Regions from separate parts of the Homo sapiens genome. Here regions 2, 3, 4 and 5 are each linked to region 1. Evidence: promoter capture Hi-C in 16 types of primary human blood cells and fetal thymus (Javierre and others, 2016). All regions are on one chromosome and are shown on one strand. Each heading gives the region's core, a stretch centred on a gene start or on the middle of the fragment in contact. The rest is flanking DNA. Distances are from core to core; before and after follow the strand shown. Region 1 holds the start of PRSS35 (serine protease 35). Region 2 overlaps ME1 (malic enzyme 1). Region 3 overlaps ME1 (malic enzyme 1). Region 4 overlaps ME1 (malic enzyme 1). Region 5 overlaps ME1 (malic enzyme 1).

The links. The method cuts DNA at HindIII sites, captures the fragments that hold promoters and counts their contacts. A CHiCAGO score of 5 or more calls a contact.
Region 2: a contact is called between a fragment that was not itself captured here and the fragment with the promoter of PRSS35 in region 1, in 1 of 17 cell types (megakaryocytes). The highest score is 5.6, in megakaryocytes.
Region 3: a fragment that was not itself captured here is called in contact with the fragment with the promoter of PRSS35 in region 1 in 2 of 17 cell types (megakaryocytes and M1 macrophages); the score reaches 7.9 in megakaryocytes.
Region 4: a fragment that was not itself captured here is called in contact with the fragment with the promoter of PRSS35 in region 1 in 3 of 17 cell types (M2 macrophages, megakaryocytes and M1 macrophages); the score reaches 7.9 in M2 macrophages.
Region 5: a contact is called between a fragment that was not itself captured here and the fragment with the promoter of PRSS35 in region 1, in 1 of 17 cell types (M1 macrophages). The highest score is 5.1, in M1 macrophages.

The regions. Positions count from the first base shown.
Region 1 is chr6:83,511,209-83,513,818 of GRCh38, forward strand. PRSS35 (serine protease 35) reads left to right here and starts at 1,326. Exons shown (of 2, transcript NM_153362.3): 1 at 1,326-1,486. The HindIII fragment of the contact is 1,326 bases long and covers 619-1,944 here.
Region 2 is chr6:83,259,044-83,261,653 of GRCh38, forward strand. The region is part of intron 6 of ME1 (malic enzyme 1); the gene reads right to left. Among named protein-coding and RNA genes, the nearest start is that of RWDD2A, 67 kb to the left of the region's middle. The HindIII fragment of the contact is 2,210 bases long and covers 197-2,406 here.
Region 3 is chr6:83,276,760-83,279,369 of GRCh38, forward strand. The region is part of intron 6 of ME1 (malic enzyme 1); the gene reads right to left. Among named protein-coding and RNA genes, the nearest start is that of RWDD2A, 85 kb to the left of the region's middle. The HindIII fragment of the contact is 271 bases long and covers 1,198-1,468 here.
Region 4 is chr6:83,303,580-83,306,189 of GRCh38, forward strand. The region is part of intron 6 of ME1 (malic enzyme 1); the gene reads right to left. Among named protein-coding and RNA genes, the nearest start is that of RWDD2A, 110 kb to the left of the region's middle. The HindIII fragment of the contact is 2,733 bases long and covers 1-2,610 here.
Region 5 is chr6:83,380,407-83,383,016 of GRCh38, forward strand. The region is part of intron 3 of ME1 (malic enzyme 1); the gene reads right to left. Among named protein-coding and RNA genes, the nearest start is that of ME1, 49 kb to the right of the region's middle. The HindIII fragment of the contact is 419 bases long and covers 1,070-1,488 here.

The DNA of each region.
Region 1 (2,610 bases), core at 76-2,575:
ACAGAGAGCTTCAGAACTAATTCTAACTGGTAAAAATTACCAATAGATTTTAATATATGGGTAAATGCTTATGTTAACAATGCTAAATGAGAAAACAGCAATGAAATTGTATATATAGTTGGCCCTTGGACACATATTTGAACTGCACAGGTCCACTTATACACAGATTTTTTTTTTCACCCAAAAGCGGATAGAAAACAGTATTTTCAGGCAGAAATGCTTAAACAGAGGGCAGACTTTTCCTATACGCGGGTTCCCCAGGGCCCACAGCTGGACTTGGACTTGAATATGGGATGATTTTAGTATGGGGGGGCGGAGGGGAAGAGGGCCTGGAACTAGTCCGTTGAGTATAACGAGGGACAATGCTAAGTATGTTATAATCTCATTAAAAGTACACAGAACTTGAGATACGCAATAACCTACTAACGAACCAAGTGTTACAAGACATGCTAAGACCTTGTGTTGTAAGTACTTGTGCACTTACTCGATCTCCCTGCTTTAGGGCCAGGACCGAGTTTTTTTGTTTTTGTTTTTGTTTTTGTTTATGTATTCTCTCGTTGTATCAGTTCATCTTGCCCCAGACCTGTCACCCACTAGAATTTGTTGTTAAACAAATGAAGCTTCCTTTCTCATGTGGCCCCCACCCCTCTCCTAAAGGAGAATAAAAGGTCGAGAGAACGGATGAGGTTAGAATGCTGGTGGGACTGAGATGGGAAAGGACCTTAAAGGTTACTCGCCCAAAGAGGAAAACCAGCCTTTTCCCTGCAGACGGAAACTGACGCGCTCCCCCTGGAGGCAGCGCAGGATGCTCCCGGGGGTCCAGGCGTCCCAGCCTGAGGTCCCCATCCTCGTGTGCAGCCTGGGCGCCTGGTACAAGTCGGGGTAACCCTGAGGCTTGTGCATCCAGAGAAGCTAGGTCCCCGGTGGAGACTAGCTTGGGATAAGGTTGGGGAGACGCCCTCCGTTCTTCTAGATGCCTGGGGTCTCAACAGCAAGCAGTGAGGAATGAGACTCTTAACTGAACAACTCCTGAGACTGTTAAAGGAGTGCATACTATTACAGGGACAGGCATCCCCTGTGAACCTACTCATGAATTTTTCCTAATGCTTAATTCAGCTTGGGGGCAGAAATGCTGGGGTGAGACACGGCCAGGTCCGCCCCGTTCCTCCAGGGAACTCCCCTCTCCGCCCTCCCTCTCCGTCTCCTCTTGCCCACCTCCTCCTCCTCCCCTCCCCCCACTCCATCCCACCGCGCCCGCCCCTCGTCATCGCCCCCTTTCCCCTCCCATCTCCCGGCCGTGGTGCGGCGCAGCTCTCTCCCCCTCCGCAGTCTCAGTGGCGAGCTCTGGGTGCTGTGGCCCGGCCTTGGCGGGGCGGCCTCCGGCTCAGGCTGGCTGAGAGGCTCCCAGCTGCAGCGTCCCCGCCCGCCTCCTCGGGAGCTCTGATCTCAGCTGACAGTGCCCTCGGGGACCAAACAAGCCTGGCAGGTAAAGATGAAGCTCCCCAAACCCAACAACCTTAGAACTTAGAAATTTCCCTGAGAAAGGCAGGACCTACCCGAGGAGAGCTTCTTTGAAGGACTTTGAAGAAAGGGATCAAACTTGACACTTTCTTTCAGTCCTCAAAGAAACTAACCACCCTTCCCATAGGCAATTCTGTGTGCCGGCCTCTGCACAGTTTAATATTAACGACAACAATGTTTGCATTGGAATATAAATGGAATTCTTTCTGCTTAAGCAGTACCAGAGGGGACCCTCTTTATTTTTATGATTGTTAACAGATGCCATTGAGAAAGGTATGAAACGCATTCCTGAAAAGTCTCTTTGGCGGGGTTACTATGAAAGCTAGCCTCTCCCCTCTACCCTTTTATCAACTTGGCTGCGGAGGTCAGCAAAAGGAGCATAGGAAAACGTTTAGAAAATGAGGCGGCGAAATGAAGTAGAAAAGCTTTTGACTTGCTTTGAAATACTCTAGCTGAAAAAAAAAAGTGTGTGGGGTGGTGATGGTGGATGAAACATTGGCAAAATATTGACAATAGTTGAAGCTGGTGATGTGCACATGGGGGTTGTACTTTTCTCTCAACTTAATACTTTTCTCTGTGCTTTTGTGTAGTCTTGAAATTTTCTATAATAAAAGGTTTTTTAAAAAGTTGTAGAAACACTCCCGCTTGATTGCTCTGACATTTTTACACTGTCCTTGATTTGAAAAGAAGCTGCTTGCTGTGTCTAGGGGGCTTTCACCCCTTATTAACCCTTCTGACTTCTGAAATTCATTCTTATTTTATCCGAAGTACATTTGTCTCCACAGAGGATTATAAAAGTCATATTTTGCTGGCTGGAGAATTATACTTAGAATCTGGTTTATAATTTAGAAGAGAGAATGTTAAAATCCCTGCCAAATAAGACATGTAGGCTTGAAGGTAGAGGCCAAGTATCATATGGAATTTTATTTTTATTAGGAAATATTAGAGGAGTTCCTTTAGTGAGGGAAGTGGTAGATGTGGATACTGTACCCCATTTTTCTTCCAGATAGCTGGGAAAACTGCATGCTTTTAAGAAGCTTTTTCACGTTTTAAAATGTGAGACTGTTTAGCATATACTTGGCATACAGT
Region 2 (2,610 bases), core at 52-2,551, 250 kb before region 1:
CTTTCTTTGATTATAACTGATCAAGAATTCACTGTAACCAGGTTAACCAAGCATGTTTTAATTTTTCCTGAGATATAGTAAAATGTTTTTATAGGATTTATTACATATGGAACATTCAAGATCTAGTGCACTTTAGCTCTGATGAGTACCTTAGGGATAACTTATTCCAAATTACCCATTTTTTATAATGTATTGAAGCTTGAGAGTGCTCAATGAATTAAGCAGCAAATAAGAAACATGGATCTTGCCCTGGAAATGCTCACTGGGAAAATAGTCTCATTGGGAAGACAAAAGGATGTAAGCAAATAACTTAAAGGAGGTTCAGATTAAAAGCAAAAGCAGTGGCACACTGATCACTAAAGGACTGAGGGAAAACAACATGAATTAGGTGAGACTTAAGATGGGCCCTTGGTAGAACTCAAATAAGGAAAAGAGTGGAGTAAAGAACCAATGATAGAATAGAGGTCTCAAAGTTTGTACTGGGGAGATGACAAATATTAGCTTCAAGGACTTTAGAAGATCAGTATTGGTTGCTGAATTTCAGATGATGAATGGTCTTGAATGCTAGAATAAGTAATCCGAAGTTGACACAAATTATCTCTGGCCAAGAACCATTCAAATTCAATTCTTCTTTGTAGGTAACAACGAAGAAGATGGATGTGTTAACTTCTTTCATAGCAATATGGCTTTTGCTCCTACTACTTTACTTCCATATTATTTTGTAACATTTAGACAGTCCTTTCATTTCTCTTACCACTCCTTTTATTATATTTTACTGTTACCTCTTAATTATTCTTTGTGACAGTAGAAATGATGAAGATTCAGCCATAATCATCCATTCTTTTCCCCCATATTCTCATCCCCTCAAGTTTCTTGTCTTCTTAAGGAATTGACAATCATGTTTTACACAAATTACTTCTAAATTTATATCTCTGCTGCTGATCTTTCAAAGAAACAACTCTGTTTCCAAAATGATACCAAGGACTTGAAGAAATTTTATACTATGAATCTTTTTTCTTTTAGAATGAGAGATAAATAATTAAAACAGTATTTCCAACCATTTTTATTTAGTATTTATTTCTCTAAAAGCATCTATAGAATCAAAAAATCACACAACATTTATAGCAAGGACCAAAAAAAAAAAGAATCACAAGCAAAATAGAATCACTATGTTTAGGTGTTGTCTGCTTTTCAAAAAAAATAGCAAACCTAAGAGATTCTGAGTTCCTTAAAATTCAACAAATTTTGAAGTTCGGTTTATAACTAAAGTGGCTATTTAGTATATTTTAATAAAAAGCATTTAAAAAATCCTCCTTGTCTCCAAAATTCATGAAACTTTTTCCCTTGTGATTTTAATTTTATTATTTTGTTGTTGTTTTTAAACTTTTATTTTAGGTTCAGGGGTACATATACAAGGTAGTTCTATAGGTAAATTCATGTTATGGGGGTTTGTTGTACAGATTATTTTATCACCTAGATGCTAAGCCTGGTACACAATAGTTACTTGTTCTGCTCCTCTTCCTCTTCTGATCCTCCACCCTCTGGGGTGGTGATGAGAACACATGGACACTAGGCCCCAGTGTCTGTTGTGCCCCTCTTTGTGTTCAAGTGTTCTCATCATTTTAACTCCCACTTATAAGTGAGAACACACAGTACTTGGTTTTCTGTTCTTGCATTAGTTTGCTAGGGATAATGGCCTCCAGCTCTCCAGCTCCATCCATGTTCCTGCAAAGGATGTGATCTCACTCTTTTTTATGGCTGCATAATATTCCATGGTGTATCAGTACCACATTTTCTTTATCCAGTGTATCACTGATGGGCATTTAGGTTGATTCCATGTCTTTGCTATTGTGAGTAGTGCTCCAATAAACAAAAAAAATGTGTGCATGCATCTTTGTGGTAAAATAATTTATATTCTTTTGGGTATATATCCACTAATGGGATTGCTGGGTCAAATGGTACTTCTGCTTTTATTTCTTTGAGGAATCTCCATACTGCTTCCACAATGGCTGAACTAATTTACACTCCCACCAGCTATGTATAAGCATTTCCTTTGCTCTGCACCCTTGCCAGGATCTGTTATTTTTTGACTTTTTAATAATAGCCATTCTGACTGGTATGACATGGTATCTCATTATGGTTTAGATTTGCATTTCTCTAATGATCAGTGATATTGAGCTTTTTTTCATATGCTTATTGGCCGTATGCATGTTCTTTTGAAAAGTGTCTCTTCATGTTCTTTGCCTACTTTTTAATGGGGTTGTTTTTTCTTGTAGATTTAAGTTCCTTAAAATTCTGGATACTAGAACTTTGTCAAATCCATAGTTTGCAAATATTTTCTCCCATTCTGTAGGTTCTTTGTTTACTCTGTTGGTAATTTTTTTTTTTTTTTTTTTGCTGTGGAAAAGCTTTTAGTTTAATTAGATCCCATTTGTACATTTTTGCTTTTGTTGTGATTGTTTTTGCCATCTTTGTCATGAAATCTTTGCCTGTTCCTATGTTCAGAGAGCCATTTCTCAGTAAAGCAAGGAGGTAAAGGGAACATCCAGTGAGGAAGTGAGGAGGTAAGGTAGCCTGTTGTTAAAGTGCGGGTTTCCAGTTAAACAGTGG
Region 3 (2,610 bases), core at 83-2,582, 230 kb before region 1:
TAATGTCTTGACAAAAAAAATTTTAAAGGTCATAGAACGATCTTAATTTTTATTATTGGTTATTAAGATAACCTAATAATCACAGTTTCAGCTTCCCTGGTCACTTAGAATTATCACTGATTTACTTACAAAAAGTTCTGTCACTGATAACAAATTGTTATAAGAAAGAGACAAATAACTTATATGCTACACTACAGTTCCCTAGCTCTGCAATAAACTGTTAAGTGGTTAAGATTTTAAAACTGAATTTTAGCATATTGTCTTAAGACAGACAGCCATCTGTATTGAAGTAAACTGCATCCCACCTCAAAGAAATATTTAACAATTGATGAATGTATAAGATGGCATTTCTTTAGAAGAAAAAACAGCAATAAACATTCTCTTAAATAAAACTTTTAATATATTTTGTGAACCAAACAAAACAAGCCTGGGTACTTACATATCCATTATATTGTCTTTTATAAAGAGAATATTTACATTCTCATATTCACTGTCTATAAGTTGTGTAATGCTGACTCCTTAACTACACAACTTCTTTTATAACATGAAACTCAATGCCTTTTGAATCTGGGTATAAATTCCTCAGCAGGCCTAGCCTCAGCACCCCCAGTTTAATTAGAACTAACCAGTAACTCTACATTAGCAGAAAACACAACTGAAAACCAATGTCCACTACAAGTATGTTGGCTCTGTGTCATGGACAGCCACAGGCCAAGGAAGACGAGACTCAGGATTATGGCAGAATAGTTAGAATACCATATTATTTAAGGTAACAAAACATGGGGAAAGGATTCATACAGTACATTCTAATCTATATCTTAGATTATCAAACTAAAACTAAGAACAAAAATAAGATTTGGGGCCAGGTGTGGTGGTTTACGCCTGTAATCCCAGCACTTTGGGAGGCTGAGGCAGGCAGATCACTTGAGGTCAGGAGTTCGAGGCCAGCCTGGCCAACATGGTGAAACCCCGTCACTACCAAAAATACAAAAATTATCCTAGCGTGGTGGCACATGGCTGTAATCGCAGCTACACGGGAGGCTGAGGCAGGAGAATCGCTTGAACCTGGGAGGTAGAGGTTGCAGTGAGCTGAGATCGCACCATTGCACTCCAGCTTGGGCGATAGTGAGACTGTATCTCAAAATAATAATAATAATAATAATAATAATATTTGGAATTCAACACAGTGTGCCAGAAAGCTTGCTTATCTTCTTGGACCTCCTGCCATTTGAACCCTAGAATTCTGAATCTAGGGTCAGAGTTTCTGGTTCTTACATGTAAAGAGCTTGGAAACTGTTACTCCCATCTCACAAGAAAAATGCTGAACAAACTACACGTTAACAACTCAATCCATCATGATGCATTAGGTTGCCCCCAAAACTAGAAAGACAGGCAAATACAGAGAATCATGGCTTTGAGTAGAAGCCCAGGAGCAGAACCGTGCAGCAAGAGCCAGTATCAGCAGCAAAGCTTTAAACTGTAATTAATGAATTGCTGGAGACTCAGTGTATACTAACTTGCAAATTAAAAACTACTAGGAGGTCCAGTCTTATGGGGGCCTCCACACTTTCATAAGTTTTATCTCCAGGAGCTTCATTAGGTTTTGACTGAAGATTTGAGGAAAAGTCCCCCTTGTGCTTCCAGCAAGCGGGGAGAGAATAGTAACCATTTAAAAAATTTGATTGTTTATTTTATTTTTAGAGAGGAGCTCTTGCTCTGTCGCCCAGGCTAGAGTGCAGGGGCACAGTCATAGCTCACTGTAACCTAGAACTCCTGGGCTCAAGTGATCCTCCTGTCTCAGCCTCTCAACTAACTGTGATTATGGATGCTTGCCACCACGCCTGGTGCCTGACTAGAGTCTTTTTTTTTTTAATTTCTTGTAGATATGAGGGTCCTCCTACATTGCCCAGGCTGGTCTTGAACTCCTGGGCTCAGGCAATCCTCCCACCTCAGCCTCCAAAAGCACCAGAATTACAGGCATGAGCCACTATGCCAAGCCTATTTATCATTTTTTAAAATGCCAGAGCATTCTGTTCTTCTTAATAGGACTTACCCTCAAGAGAAACTATTTTACCAGATCCTAACTTAATGGGGTTCACCAAAGCCTACCTAAACTGGGGGAAGGGAAATATCCAACTACAGTCCTCCCTGGGCTTTCAAATGGAGGAAAGAAAATACTCAAAACTCAGGCTCACTAAAAAACTGACAGCCAATCATAGGACTATAGTAAACAACCCCTTCCCCCCCAACCCTATCACTGCCCCAACAGGGCTCTGGTATAATAACAGCAGATTACAGCTAAAACAAATTCTAGCCTCAAAGTCTATTTAAGGAGACGCTGGAAAAATCCAAAGACAAGAGGTTAGACAAAAACAATGACACTGAAGAACTTTTAGCCTCTAATACTACAGCTACAGCAAACATCAAACACAGCTTAACTCCTAGCCAGATAAACAAAACCCAGCATATTAAAGGCATATCTCCCTAAGTTCCTTTTACCCCATATAGCAGGTCTAATTGTCAACAAAATTACAAGGCATCCTAAAAGGCAAGAAATATAGTCGGAAAACACAAAGCAAGCATCAGAATGAGATTCAGATATAGTGGAAA
Region 4 (2,610 bases), core at 39-2,538, 210 kb before region 1:
CTGGGTCAAATATATTGTGATGATCAATTTCAACTGACTCATAATGATCACAAGCATGGCTGAATCACTGAATTTTATGAAACAACCAGTCCTGAATGTTGAAACAAAATACGATTTTTTTTTTACCACTTTCATAGAATCCTAAAGTTGGAACACTTTAGAAACATTTAATTCTAATCCATCATCTCACATAAAAGTAGAAATCTTTATATCTTTAAGCACATCTGTCCATGTTCTCAGAGTGATGGAGAGTTCACAAATAATATTAACAACAGAAACAATAAGGAATAACAACCTCTGAGTAATTTTTATGTGCAAGTACTTTTATATACATTATTTTCTTTGGGGACAATTCCAACTATTAAATGCTCTATTTAATATTAAGCCAAATTTGCCAGCCTACATCTTTTAACTAAATTATGGTCCTAGTAATCCTTCCTGAAAAATAAAAATTATAGTTACTATTTATAGCACTTGATAAAAGTAATTTGTTTTATATGTTTTCTCTCAATCATCATAACAACTGTCTGAAGGTACTACTGAAGGTACTATTAGCATTTTACCCCAATTTACAGGCAAGAAAATTAAGCCTTGAGGAAGGTAAGTAATTTTTCCAAGGTTACAAATGTAGTAGTTGGTGGAGCTGAGGATTGACTCCAAAGTGCAAGTTTTACTTATCACATGTACCTGAGATATGAGCTTTGCAAGCTGTCAAAATTAGATTTCTAAACTTCCTGAGCTGAGAGTCAGGCTCCAAACCATGGTAAATTAACTGAATTAAGAAATGTCATTCTATGACACCTCTGAAGAAATGGACTGCAAACCTGTCCCAGGCAGCACCATTCCAACCTGTGCTCAGTAGGATGAGCCTTTCTTTCCATCTAAATTTCGACACATCTCAATCTAACAATATTGGTCAACAAAACTTTAACAATAGCTTATTTTGTTTTCTATTCACAAATGTGGCATTTTTACCATGTATATACAGAATATGATATTATTTTCATGAGGATATGAAAAAAGTGGGTCACCATCTGTGGATACCACAAAGAAAAACACTCTTGAGAATTAATCACTACATATTGGTAAAATAAAAAACATGGCACACTGTGTTAATTCTGGCTTGCTTTATAGTTAGTGAAATAAAAGTAACAGTCAAATCATGGAAAATTGAGTTAGCCAGAATGTGATCATCTTGGCAACAGGAATGATTATTTTGTTCTTACATTTTGATTATGGCAAATTTTATACAAATTTTGTTGTAGCTTTAAATAATGAGACTTTGACATATGTCAGCTCAAACAATATTTACTACCAACTTGCATTAAATGTCGTTAGATTACTCTATGTAACATGCTAACTTTAGAACTAACCTCTAATTCCTTGAGGGATAATCTGCTTCTGGGACCTGAGACAATCGGGTATTCATTACTTACCATGTGCTGATGGCTCTCCTTTCCATATAAAAATGATGCTAGTAATTCAATAAAAATAAGACATGTTTAAATGAAATAATTTTCTAGTAATGGTGAAAGATTTCTGCAAAACCACTCACATTGTCTTGTGTGGCCTCCCTTTAAGTATCTCAATTGAGTTCAACAAATATTTATTGTTTATCTACTCTGTGCCAAGCATTGATACAGGAAGGAACTTGTTCATAAAATGAACAAAGTAGATCCCTGTCCTTGACAGCATATCTTCTAGTGGAAGAAACACACAATAAGCATAAACATAATAAATGAATAATGGTAATAAGTGGTATTTTAAAAAAGGAAAAGTAGAGCAAAACAAGGGTGATCAGGAGAGCCAGGGTGGGGAGAAGATGGGACAGGTTTCAGTATTACATAGGGTAGTCAGGGTAAACCTCAAAAGAAGGTTAAGATTTGAGCTAATATATGAAAAAGATTAAGTTTTTAACCAAACACATTTCTGGGAGAAGAATATTTTAGACAGAGGGAAAAGCAAGTGAAAATATTCTAAGGAACATGCCTTGAGAGTTCAATGACAGTACAGGCAGCGTGGAGAATGTGGGTGCAGGAGAGTGAGCACATCATAGAGGTCAGGAAGGGGGCCACATCAGGGCTTGAGGGCCATTATAAGGACTTTGGCTTTCATTAACTGAAATGCACTGACTGTCAATACTAATGTTAGGTCCAGATACGATATTAGTTGCAATTAGGGTTTCAATTTCCTACAGAACCAAAAAAGTACCCTTAATTTCTGACCTTACCCCCAAATCAATTTTCTAAGTTTGCCTCTTTAATTATTCTTTTCCTTTCCGCATCTTTAATCTCTAATAATTAAAATATATGTACTTCATTCTAATATTGTTATAAGATTTCCCCAAACCAGCCACATAGATGGTCTTTCAAAAGGAAAAGTAAATTGCTTTCACATGTTCATACCTGCTTTACCTTTGTCTATAAACACACGTAAATTAAGGATGGCAAGAAAAAATATTATAAACAAAAGACCTTATTTTAACCTACAAGATATTGCTATTGATAGTGTTTTTTGTTTTGTTTTTAGGTTGATCTATAACTCAGGAAATCATATTGAATCTTCTTTTTTTATGTTACCAATGAGCGGATGTATCATTCTTATTTTCTA
Region 5 (2,610 bases), core at 29-2,528, 130 kb before region 1:
TATATCTTTTTGAAAATCCACTCCCTTTTGACAGTCTTCAAGGGTAAATATGCAGTAGTAGTCCAGGAAAGAAACAAGAAGAACCTAGCTAAAAAAAAGTGGCAATGGGGATTGAAAGGACAAAAGAGACTCAATAGATAATTAAGGGATACAATTTCTAATGCTCAAAAAGGGAAAGGAAGGGGAAAAAATCCTGATTATCTCTGAGGTGTTTGCTTTAGTAACTGAATGAATGATGTTGCACCTTACAATGTTAGAAAACCTGGGAGCCTGGGATGTTAGGCTGGGGAGTGGGTAAGTGGAAGTAGTTGTTTGCCATATTAAGATGAGCTACTTAGTAGTTGAAAATACGAGTAATAATCTTAGGAAAAGAAATCTAGGCTACAAATATTGACTTGGAAATTCTCCAATTACATGTGACTAAGAGAATATATAGAATAAAAAGAAAATAGAACCCAGAATAAAACCTTGGCAAGAACCAACATTTTAGTGGGTGGAATGGATCACTGCAGTTAGCTGAACAGATTAAGAAGGAAATAATTGAAGAAAGGAAATGTATTAGATATAGTTCATGGAAATAAAAAGCTGAACCAATGAATTCATGGGGAACATGGAGAGAAATATCTGAGATAAGGAGGATAAGGCTGCAGAGTGTTTACATTCTTGTAACTGCAAGAGTGAGATGAGCCAAAAACACAGCTGGAATGAAACACTGAGGAGCAGAAGGCCCAGCCGAAATTGAACTGTGCAGGCAGAATTATAGCACTCCACCCCCACATTAATAATATTTTAATTAAAAAATAGGTGCACAGAAATGAAATGAACAATACTTACTGGCTTCATAGAACATGATCTAATTGGCTCTTCTGGGAGGGCAAGAAAGGATTGGTTCAGGATGGATTTGTACAGTGAGTAAAGGACAAGATAGTGAGGTGATTGACTTGGGCTATAAATAAAATGAACTATATTAAGCCTGCAAGCTTAAGAAATTCTTTTTTTTTTTTTTTGAGACGGAGTCTCGCTCTGTTGCCCAGGCTGGAGTGCAGTGGTGCAATCTCAGCTTACTGCAAGCTTGAGAAAGTCTTATGTACAGGAGACCTTCTTATCTCCAGCTGATGTATTTAGAGTCTGTGTATATACCTACATGCTGTGTGTCCATATCCCTATCACCTCACCTACCTATAGCCATCAGTACAGGACTACAAGACTGTGGAATTATTCCCATGTGAACTGGTTGCTGCTATTGGCAACTCTGTTAGCTTACAGCTTTTCTTGATTTCCTTGCTCCATATCTTAAGAGGATCAAGTGCATTCAAAGCAATTAAGAATTGGAAAGGGATCCAATACTGCAAGTCTTCTTAGTGCCCTTTCCATTCCATTCTAGCTCTCATTTCTAATATTTTATCCACATGGCAGCCAGAGTAATCTTTTAAAACTTTAGTTAGATGCTGTCTACTTTGAATATTCAATGGCTTTTTAAATGGATTAAGCTTTATAATGAAACTCTATCATGACCCACACACCCTGCATGAGACTGCTGTCTACCTCAAACTTCATCTCATGCCACCTCCCCAGTCCCAGATCTTTTGAACAAGCTATCCCCTCAGGCTCAAAGGTTTTTATTTTTTCCTTTTTTTTTTCCCTGATTTTCACAAGCTGCTTCCTTATCCTTCAAGCGGCAGCCTAAACTATCTCCTTACAGGCACTTCCCTAACTATACTGTGAAAGGAAATCCCCTGTTATTGTTTATCATTGTCCTCTGTTCATTTCCTTCATAACACAAACAGTACTCATGTATTTCTTTGTTCACTTGAATATTACCTGTAAATTCCACAAATGCAGAAATTAAGTCTTTATTTACCTATTCTCAATGCTTGGTAAAGTGCCTGGCATGCAGTGGACGCTCAATAAATTTCTGGTAAAGGAAGGAAGGAGAAGGGAAATAATAAGCATAGTCAATAATTTAAAAGACTGTAAAGAAATGGCAAGGTTGGGAAGAAAAAGCAAGAATCTTCCGGAAGAATTGAATGGTCAATAATATTATCTGACAATTTCTAAAATTAGGTTTAAATGTTAAATTACTATAATTAATCCAGTCAGTATTAGGAACTTTTAAAAGTGAAACCATAGTAGAGCAATATTCCTAAGAAATATCTGCTAGAATTAAGCTCCTCTGAAAAGCAATATATGAAACTCTTCACAAGTAAACACTCCAGTATTTGAGAAAATAATCTTAATTAACAAACATAATACATCATTTTACCTTTTGAAAATCAGAACACATATTAATCAATAGGGAAAGGTCCAAGGAGCTACATGATAAGAGTGCTGCTTCTCTGAGCAACTCAGAGTAGAGTTGGAAAACATAATCAATCTAAGATAAGAAGACTCAAGATTGGTCTAGGAATATGTATTGGCTATTTTCATGTGTCAACCTAGCTAGGCATAGTACCCAGATGTTTGGTCAAACATTCTAAATGTTTCCATGAAGGTAGTTTTTAGATGATACTAATATTTAAATCAGTAGATTCTGAATAAAACAGATTACCTTCCACAATGTGTATGGGCCTCATCCAGTCAGCTGAAATCTTATTAAAAAAGACTGACCTC